2 separate regions of the Homo sapiens genome follow, and region 2 is linked to region 1. The links are contacts of gene promoters, found by promoter capture Hi-C in human tissues and cell types (Jung and others, 2019). All regions are on one chromosome and are shown on one strand. Each heading gives the region's core, a stretch centred on a gene start or on the middle of the fragment in contact. The rest is flanking DNA. Distances are from core to core; before and after follow the strand shown.

Region 1 (4,965 bases), core at 982-3,481:
TACATCCTCCATCCTCACTTTTTGGGAATCCAAGCTCAATCTGTGAGCTACCCTGCTACTAAAATTCACACCTCTTCCCCCACCTCTAAGGATGGCATGAGGGATCCTAGCTACACAGCCACTTCCCTCAAGTCCAATGTCAGAGAGTCAAGCTGGGGGCTAGAGAAAGCAGAGGCCACAACACCAGCCCAGAACCACCTCCAGTAAAATGGACACTGTCATTCATTCATGACCTTACTTGATTCTCAAAACCCCCTGCCAGACCCATCTTACAGGTGAGGAGGCTGAGCCTCCAAGCATTCTGTAAGTTGGCCAGTGTCACACAGTCAGGAACCTAGCAGGGTTTGGAGCCGACGTTTTCCACAACAACCTAAGGCCAGTCTCTTCCAAACAAGCGTGAACAATTCAGCCAATCTCCCCCTGCACCAAGTCACAGAGCCCCAGCTGACAAGCCTGAGAATGGCTGAGCTCCCTCAAGTGTGCTGTTGGCTTGTGGGGCCTGGGGTGCAGCCAGCCAGGATGCTGGGGTTCTCACATCACCAACAGCCCCAGCCACAGCAGGGCCACCTCTATCTTCCGTTGAACTGGACTACCCAGCCCCTCAGCACATCCACTGCCTTCCACATGACAAGAGAGAGGAGGTTTGGGGGTGGGGAGGTCTCAGGCACAAGCACAGATTTCACCCTGTTAGGCACCCTGGGGACCTGGCCCTGAGATGAGGTGTCCCCCAGCTACCTCCAGGGGCTGCGTTAGCAGAGAAGTGAGGCAGATCTAGGGCTTCTCAGGCAGGCAGGAGACTTCGGCATGAGGGGCTGGCTACAGGGTCTGCAAAGAGGTGCCACCAACCTGCCACTGAGATGCCTGTGGTCCTGAGATACTCTGAATCCAGGACATCAGAGCCAATCAAGGTCCCACACCCACACCCAGGCAATCCTGGCTGTTAATTGATCAAGACTTCAGGTTTGTGGAAATGAGGGGAATGGGTGTGAGGTGGCTGGGAGGGGAAGCCCCATCTTGTGTTCCCCAGGATGGATGTGGAGCAGAAGCCAGCCTCGGTGACAGCTTGTATGTGACATCTGTCAAACTGAGACAGCTCCCACTTGGGGATCCTGTCCTGGGTCCTGCTCTAACCCAGTCACTGATAATCCAGTGCAAAGTGGGTGAATCCCTTCCTTTCTGGGAACAAGGGCTTCCTTAACCACCGGCGTGCCTGGCAGGTACCGGAGGCAGCCCCGGGGCAGCCCTGGAGAAGCTAGTCAGAATATGAGCTTCTTTCCTCCCCAGCCAGGCTCCCGGAATTATTTCTCAAATCATTTTCAGTCCTAGGAAGTGATAATTTGATTTCACTTTAACATTTTTAACGAGCTGCATCTTCATCAACTGCCAAATTAGGATGAGAGCAAAGATCGGGGAATCACAATGAGAGGTTTTGGAGTGATTGGGGAAATCCAAATTTGGGGTGTGCCTGGGTGGTTGACACCTCACGCCCAGCACCTGCGGTGGGGTCCCCATAGCACCACCCTGATCACCCCCGCGAGTCCATCTCTGCTCAGTGGCTCCTGGCAGGGACACCTCCTCCTATCAACCCTTCTCACAGGCGGGAGAAGGAAGCCCCGGGTCCCACGAGCTGGAGAAATGAGGCCACCCTGCAGGCTGTGATAAGCGGGGAGTTGGACCCGCATAGGCCGACAGCCCAGCTCAACAGGTGGTGGTGGGCTTATCCCTTCCTGCATTATCCGGATAATAATCTGCCAGCCCCATTCAAGTCCGTCGTGGAAAAGTCTGCCCTCAGCTTTGGCATGGGTAAATTGCCTAGAAGCGACTGCAAAGAGGGGGCGTCATCATCTCCCCCGATACATCCTTGGGACAGACAGATGGACAGACAGACACACGCACACGCGCATACACACGCCCGCGCTCCCCACCACACTGCCCCTTCCAGGGTGCGCGATCGCTAGGGCTCTCCAGCCCCTGCCCCTGGCTGGGCTGTCATGGGGGCGCAGCCCGGCGCCGCGGCCCAGCACCGGTGGGAGACCGTCCCCCAGGGACCCCCCCAGGATGGAAGAGGTGGTCTCTCCCGGTCTTCCCGGCTCTTACCTCGCTGGAGCGGCCGCGACCCCCGACCCTGGTCCAATGTCCCTCGCCGGCTGGGCGCGCGGGGCGGGAGGTACCGCGCTAGGCTGCCCGGGACGCCCGCCCCGTCCAGTCAGCCGGAACCGCTCGGCGCCAATGACCGTGGCCGCCGCCGCCGCAGCTCGCGCCCCGGACCCCGAGAGGGAGGGGCGGGCAGGGGGCGGGGCCGAGGGCGGGGCCTCCCCACCCCGGCGCTGCCAGCTGCAGGCGGGGTTTGGGACCGGTCAGATGCGGTCTCCCAGCCCGGGAGGTGAGCACCTCTGGGGTGAGCACCCTTGTGGGGGTGGCAGGTGAAGAGTTGGGGGCCGGCGTGGGAGAGGAGAGGCTTTCAGAGTCCGCATAGGGCTGGGAGACCCTGCCTGGAGTCAGACTCACCTTCAAATTCCAGCAGCTGGGGCTGCAGCCTCTGCCGTTGCTGCTGCTTTTAAATAAGGATGATGATGATGATGATGATGATGATGATGGTGATAGAACAACAATGCCAGCTAGTATTTATTGAGCACTTACTAGTGTAAGCGTTCAATGAGCTTCACATGTATTAAGTCATTTAATTCTCACACGAATCCCATTTTACAGATGAGAAGACTGAGGCACAGGGCGCTTAAGTGAGGAGTCTGAGGACACACAGCTGGAAAATGGCAGAGCCAGGACTGCAGCTCAGGCCTGTCTAAGTGCAGAATCTGAGCCTTTAAAGCCCCACTCTGCTTTTGTACTGTGTGGCCTTAAGCAAAGTGTTTGTCCCTCTTAACAGTAAAATGGTAATATATGTCCAATAAATGGTGGCAACTAACAATAAAACATTTCTTCCTTTCTTAGGTTCTATGTCTCCTTTAGTCTCTGGGTCCTGGACACCCAATAGGTGCTCAATAGATGTTTGTTAATCTATGACTAATTTGAAAGTGGCAGCTGGAGCCAGTGTGGTCAGCCAGGTTGGAAGGGGAACCCAAGGGCTAACTCTTCCTGGCCTGCATAGCCACATATCTTTTATTGCTTTGAAATGGCAGCCTGACCGATATCTTTGTCCGGCACACTTGTGCAGATGCTCACAGACCAGCAGCTTCCCCTCAAAGGCCTGTAAAATCCCTGCAGACCAAGAGGGGGTCAAAGATGTGGCATGTGGAAATATTTGGGGGCAAAGTTGGTTGCTAAATAATGAGACATCAGCAGTGAACATATTAGTTTAAAACTGTAGGGCAGAAACTTTTATAGAAGCATCTATGTTGCTGAGGTCTCCTGACATGGGAGGACTTTGTCACATGTGAATGGGGCCAGGTGGAGTTGGGACAACTGAAGGTTTTTGGAAAGGATACACCACGTGTCTATTCACAGCATTTTAGGCCTATGCAGTTTTCCGCTTTTTCTCCCTTTTCCCACCTACCCCAAGAGTGTTCTTCTCTATCCCCCAGAATACCCTGATGGAAATCCAAGAATGGATTTCTTCTTCTTCGTCTCTGGGCCCAGGAGCCTCTTGCACAGCTCTCACCAGTATGGCAATGATGAATTTACTGTCAATCTCCCTAACTATGCTGGGAGCCCCTTAAAAGGAGAAAGTCTGACGCATAGTAGGCACATTGTATTTGCTGAATGAATGACTGGAAGTTGGACACATCTCCCCAAGACTAAAGCTGTCAAGGAGAAAACCACCAAAGAAAACCTCAGAGGTGGCTGGATCAATGAAATGAAAAGATGAAAACGGGCAAAGCACCCAGGAGATGTGCCTTTTGCAAAGTCTGCAGGTCATTTTCCCAGCAAAGGCCAGAGAGGCTGGCCTGGGATCCATGCCCTGTGGGTCACCTCTGCGGGCCGTCGCCATGTCCTCCAGCCATTGAAGAGTAAGTGTATGGAGTGGGGGTGAGCAGACTGCCTGGTGTTGGGTGTGAGGAAAGGGGTGGGTGGAAGAGGGAATGTCCTCCCTTGTGGGTTAATTGAACAATCCCAGAATGTCCACTTGCCCCCTAGATAGGCCCCCTTTTTGATCTGTGTGACCCTATTCTCTGGATCATCTTGCAATGCTTATGGAGAAATAACAGATCAATTGGTTGCAGAAAACACCCTTCAAAAGGGAAGCTAGTGGCCGGGCGCGGTGGCTCATGCCTGTGATCCCAGCACTTAGGGAGGCCAAGGCAGGCAGATCATGAGGTCGGGAGATCAAGACCACCCTGGCTAACATGGTGAAACCCCATCTCTACTAAAAAACACACAAAAAAATTAGTCAGGCATGGTGGCAGGCGCCTGTAGTCCCAGCTACTCGGGAGGCTGAGGCAGGAGAATGGCATGAACCTGGGAGGCAGAGCTTGCAGTGAGCCGAGATTGCGCCACTGCACTCCAGCCTGGGTGACAGAGCAAGACTCCATCTCAAAAAAAAAAAAAAAAAAAAAAAAAGGAAGATAGTGTCCAGGGGTGCTCAAAGCCTCCTCCCCAGTCATTCTGCCCAAGGCAAGTGGGGAAGTCCCCACAACATGGGTGGTTGAAAAACAGCAATTTGGATCTGATGGAATGAGGTCTTCAACGTGGCTCTGCCCCAACTAGCTGTGTGACCTTGGACAAGTTACTTAACCTCTCTGAGCTTTCGTTCACTTCTCGATAACCAAAGCTGGCTTCATGGTTCTCAAAGCCTTGCTCTTAGGAAAGCTCTGTGCCTGGTTTGATGATCTGATTTTGCCATCTCGAAATTCTTAATCAGTTTTCAACAAGGGGCTACATCTTAATTGTTGCACCGGACTCCATAAAATTATGTCTCTGATGCTGGTGATAACGCCAACCTCACTGGTTTGCGAAAGCGAGATCATGTTTGCACAAGGGTCTGACACATTGGGGGCTCTCAGCAAAAGT
Region 2 (5,064 bases), core at 2,239-4,738, 120 kb after region 1:
ACCTTAACAGCAATTTCAAAGGGTTTAACTTAATACCATAGACACTCTGCTATGTTTGAATTTTATATAATGAATATACACTATATGGAAAATCAGACAGACCATAAAAATAGAAATTTCTGACCTCTAATACAATAGCCCTCTGTCCAGAAATTCTTACAAGGGGTGCTGATTTATCTCCAGTATGAATACAGGTCCAAAGATTCATCTACAGTTAAGAATCAGAAACTGAACCATTACTCCAGGGCTCCCGGTGGGTCCATCTCATCATCATAGAACTCCTGGGCAGCCTCTGAAGTACTGTTTAATGTCTAATTGTGAGAGGTGTTCAAACCAGAGCAACTCCATCTTGAATAGCAGCTGGGTAAAATGAGGCTGAGACCTGTTGGGCTGCATTTGCACTCCTGGGAGGTCAGGCATTCTTAGTTACAGGATAAAACAAGAGGTCAGCAGGACTGTTCTCAGAAGGTACAGACCATAAAGACCCTCATGATAAAACAGGATGCAGTAATGAAGCCAGCCAAAACCTGCCAAAATCAAGATGGCGAGGAAAGCGACCCTCTGGCTTCCTTGCTGCTCATTATATGCTAATTATAATACATTAGCATGCTAAAAGACACTCCCACTAGTGCCATGATGGTCTATAAATGCCATGGTAACATCCAGTGGTTACCCCGTATGGTCTAAAAAGGGAAGGACCCCTCAGTGCTGGGAATTGCCTGCCCCTTTCCCAGAAAACTCATGAATAATCCACACCTTTTAAAGCATATGATCAAGAAATAACCATAAAAATAGCCAACCAGCAGCTCTTGGGGGTTGCTCTGCCTATGGAGTAGCCATTCTTTTTTTTTTTTTTTTTTGAGACGGAATCTTGCTCTGTTGCCCAGGCTGGAGTGCAGTGGCCCGATCTCGGCTCACTGCAAGCTCCACCTCCGGATACACGCCATTCTCCTGCCTCAGCCTCCTGAGTAGCTGGGACTACAGGTGCCCACCACCATGCCTGGCTAATTTTTTTGTATTTTTAGTAGAGACGGGGTTTCACCATGTTAGCCAGGATGGTCTCGATCTCCTGACCTCATGATCCGCCCGCCTCGGCCTCCCAAAGTGCTGGGATTACAGGTGTGAGCCACTGCACCCGGCCCATTCTTTTATTCCTTTACTTTCTTAGTAAACTTGCTTTCACTTTACTCTGTGGACTTGCCCCAAATTCTTTCTTCCATGAAATTCAAGAACTCTCTCTTGGGGTCTGGATTGGGACTTCTTTCCAGTAACGTAACTACATTCCACTTTAAATGTGTTCATTCTCACCTATTTTGTAAATATGTCTTCAAAAATACATGATCTCTTAGCATTCTCGAAAATAAGGCTTTGAGTAATATACTTATCAAAGACAGTTGCAACGTGTGGAGAGATGACAACAGAAGCTTCTTTCTACTTCTAAGATTCCACGGACAGGCCAACGATGACCAACCATAGGAACAAATGAATAATTGTGGATTTCTCCTACCATTTTTTGTACAACGATGAAAGTCCTCTGTATTCACAGCTAATCTGAACAACACTGGCAAAACAACACTGATGGTGATTCATTGCTATTCCATGTAACAGGGCATGGTTAACAGAAATAGCCATGCCATATATAACCAAGGATGCCCAGCACAGCATCATACCTCTAAGGTAATGCCTTTACCTGCACCCACTGCAACGTTAGTTAAGAGAGATCAAGTGTTTCGAAGCAGAAAGCCACAAAGGAACTGAGGGTTTTCACGGTATCGTTAGTGGAATATGGCCTGTGTATTTCTAATAAGCTCCAAGTCATGATATCTATTATCTTCTACTCGGTAACGGGGCAACAGGTTAAAATGATGCTACTTAATGGGCATGACAGCCTCCTGGGTAGCACAGTTAGAGTAAATAAAATGTCCGCTGTTCTCTGGCTCAATACTTCATCTGCTGGGACACGCCAAGCACGCTGCCGCCTGAGGGCCTTTGCAGTTGGGCACTTCCTCTGACCCAGATAGGCACGGGACTCCCTTCTATCTCTGCTCAAAGGATGCTTTAGCCCCGAGGCTCCCTACTCCTTCTGACATTGTCCCTGCACCGGTTTCTGTGGTGCATACTCCCTCCCTCTCTTCTCATTACCAATCCTGTATTTCTCTACTTGTTTGTTACTTTCTTCGGCCACTGGGATGAGCACGCACGGCTCGTCTGTTTTGTTCCCCGGCACAGCTCCAGTGCCTAGGATGGTGTTTGGGGCATGGTGGTCCTCAAATATTTGCAGAAGCAATGAGTAGAGTATATGGGGAAGGCAGCTTTTCATATAACATTTTTAAGAGGCAGAAATGTTGCTTTAAAATAATTTCTACAGCAAGGCTGCCTCTTGTTGTAAAAGTATACCTGCTCATTTTAGAAAATCTAACAGGCATGGATACATCAGAAAAAAGAGAACAAAATTTAAAACATCTATAATTTTATTTTTATTTATTTTTGAGACGGAGTCTCGCTCTATCTTCCAGACAGGAGTGCAGCGGTGTGATCTTGGCTTGCTGCAACCTCTGCCTCCTGGGTTCAAGCGATTCTCGCACCTCAGCCTCCTGAGTAGCTGGGATTACAGGAACATGTCACCATGCCTGGCTAATTTTTGTATTTTTAGTAGAGACGGGGTTTCACCATGTTGGCCAGGCTGGTCTCGAGGTCCTGACCTCAAGTGATCCACCCACCTCGGCCAAAGTGCTGGGATTGCAGATGTGAGCCACCACGGCTGGCCTAAAACATCTAAAATTTTATACTCATTTTGGCAGCATATATACTAAAATCTTATAATTTTATTACCCAGAGGTAATCATTAATAACATTCTGGTGGACATTTTCCTAATCCTTTCTTTTCATGATTTCCTATGTGATACAGATAGAATCAGATTGTTTGTAACCTGCTTCTCCCCTTTGCTTATTGTGAACTTCTGGTTATAAGCACTCTTCTGCCACATGATTTGAGTGACTGCATCATATCCTACTACACGGCTCTACTGTAGCTGATGTAACCATTCCTTATTGTTAGACACCTAGGTTTTTCCTAGTTCTGTTTTCAATGACATGCAGATGAACAATTTTGTGGTCTAAATATGTGTGCATCCTTGAAGTCCCCAGGATAGATTCCTGGATGAATGAAACATTAATTACTTGTTTGTGACCTTTTTGGGGAGGTCACAAACAAGTACCCTTGTGCCCAGCTGCACAAGGACAGACATTTTAATCTCACCATGAATAGTCAAAGAGAAGAGGAAGAAGCCCAGAGTCAAGGCAGCCTAATTCCTGAAGGCAGGCTCTTGGTTTCTTTTGGGTTGTGTGTCTAAATTCACAGTTGGAATTTTTAACTGTACTTCTTTCTCACATGTGGCTGTGTATATGTGTTTTATGTTCAGATGTCAAAACAAAAACACATCTTTTCTTCCACAACACAGAAAGTGGTCTTGGAAGGTGCTATGGTTTGAATGTGTCTCCCTCAAATTCACATGTTGAAATCCTTAGCCCCAAGATGATGGTGTCAGGAGGCAGGGCCTTTGGAAGGTGACTAGGTCATGAGGGTGGATCCCTCACGAATGGGATTAGTGCCCTTATAAAAGAGGCCTTGGAAGCTGGGTGTGATCCCAGGCTGATGCCTCTAATCCCAGCATTTTTGAAAGGCTGAGGCAGAAAGATAGCTTGAGGCTGGGAGTTTGAGAACAGCCTAGTCAACACAGTGAGACCCCCATCTCTACAAAAAATAATTTTAAAAATTAGCCAGGCACAGTGGCGTGCACCTGTAGTCCTAGCTACTCGGGAGGCTGAAGCAGGAGGATTGCTTGAGCCCAGGAATTCGAGGATGCAGTGAACAGTGATTGTGCCACTGCACTCCCGCCTGGGCATCAGAATGAGACCCTGTCTCTAAATAATAAAAACTTTAATAAAAAGAGGCCTGAGAGGCTCCTCATCCCATCTACCATGTGTGGGCAAAGCCAGAAGATGCCATCTGTGAATCAGAAAGTGAGCCTTCACCAGACACCTCACCTGCCTTGATTTTAGACTTCCCAGCATTCAGAACTAAGAGAGAGAAACATATGCAGTTTGTAAGCCATGCAGTTTATGGTATTTTGCTATAGCAGCCCGAGTGGACTAAGACAGAAGGGGAGCTAATTTGTATGGAGAGCTTAACAGTGATCCTTAGTAAGTCAGTCCCCCAAGCCACCCCACTTCCTTCTGACGGCATTTTTCTGGTTGCACAATCCGATCTGTAAGTGCAACCTGGAAATAAGGGCCTGGGTGATTCCTCCCACACAACTGGGTCAACACCTGCTACTTGGAGTTTTCTCCCGGAGGCGGGAATCACAGGTGACCAGCAAATCACAGGCATGAGTCATTCTTTCTCCTGCTGGCAACTGCAGCGAGGGCCTCAGAACCACAGACTGTCAGCCACAGAAGGGTCCCTGGGGAGTCTGACCTGCCTAGGATGCAGATGAAGATGCTGAGGTCTAGAGAGCTAACTTCACCACAGCCTCTGCGCCGCTTCGTGGCAGTGCTGGTGGAGGAAGAGAAGGACGCTCTGTTCTCTACAGAGGCCCTGAAACTAGATGCTGGATCATCCCGTACGTTTCCCTGTGCTAAGGTTGCCCCATCTGGGCTGTAATCTTTGACTAACAGCAGGAGGATGACAGAGCTTTTAGAATTCAAAAGCAACTTGGGGATAGTCTCATCAAGGCTGCCCATGTTACAGATGAGGAGAATGAGCCCAGGGGGCACCGCGATATGTCTAAATCAGTTTTCCATCCTGAGCTCTGAATCCAGAACTCCAGCCTTTGAACCTAGTGCTCTTCCTCCTACATCGAGGGTGAGCAAACTTTTTCTGTAAAGGTCCAGATAGTAAATATTTGTGGCTTTGTGGGCCAAATACTGTCTCTGTTGTAACTCTCCAACTCTGCCATTGTAGCTCGAAAGCTGCAAAAGTGAGTAAAGGAGGGAAGGTGTTCCAATAAAGCCTTAATGGTGAAGACAGGCAGCCGCTGGGGTCTGGGCTGTGGATTGCAGTTC

Evidence for each region. The method cuts DNA at HindIII sites, captures the fragments that hold promoters and counts their contacts. A contact is called where the count stands out against the background at its distance.
Region 2: a contact is called between a fragment that was not itself captured here and the fragment with the promoter of CACNG5 in region 1, in 2 of the 25 tissues and cell types used here (H1 embryonic stem cells and mesendoderm cells).

What each region holds. Positions count from the first base shown.
Region 1 is chr17:66,832,383-66,837,347 of GRCh38, reverse strand. It overlaps CACNG5 (calcium voltage-gated channel auxiliary subunit gamma 5), which reads right to left and starts at 2,231. Exons shown (of 6, transcript NM_145811.3): 1 at 2,098-2,231. The HindIII fragment of the contact is 10,169 bases long and covers 1-4,965 here.
Region 2 is chr17:66,717,192-66,722,255 of GRCh38, reverse strand. The region is part of intron 8 of PRKCA (protein kinase C alpha); the gene reads right to left. Among named protein-coding and RNA genes, the nearest start is that of MIR634, 67 kb to the left of the region's middle. RefSeq lists an enhancer at 1-20. The HindIII fragment of the contact is 6,574 bases long and covers 202-5,064 here.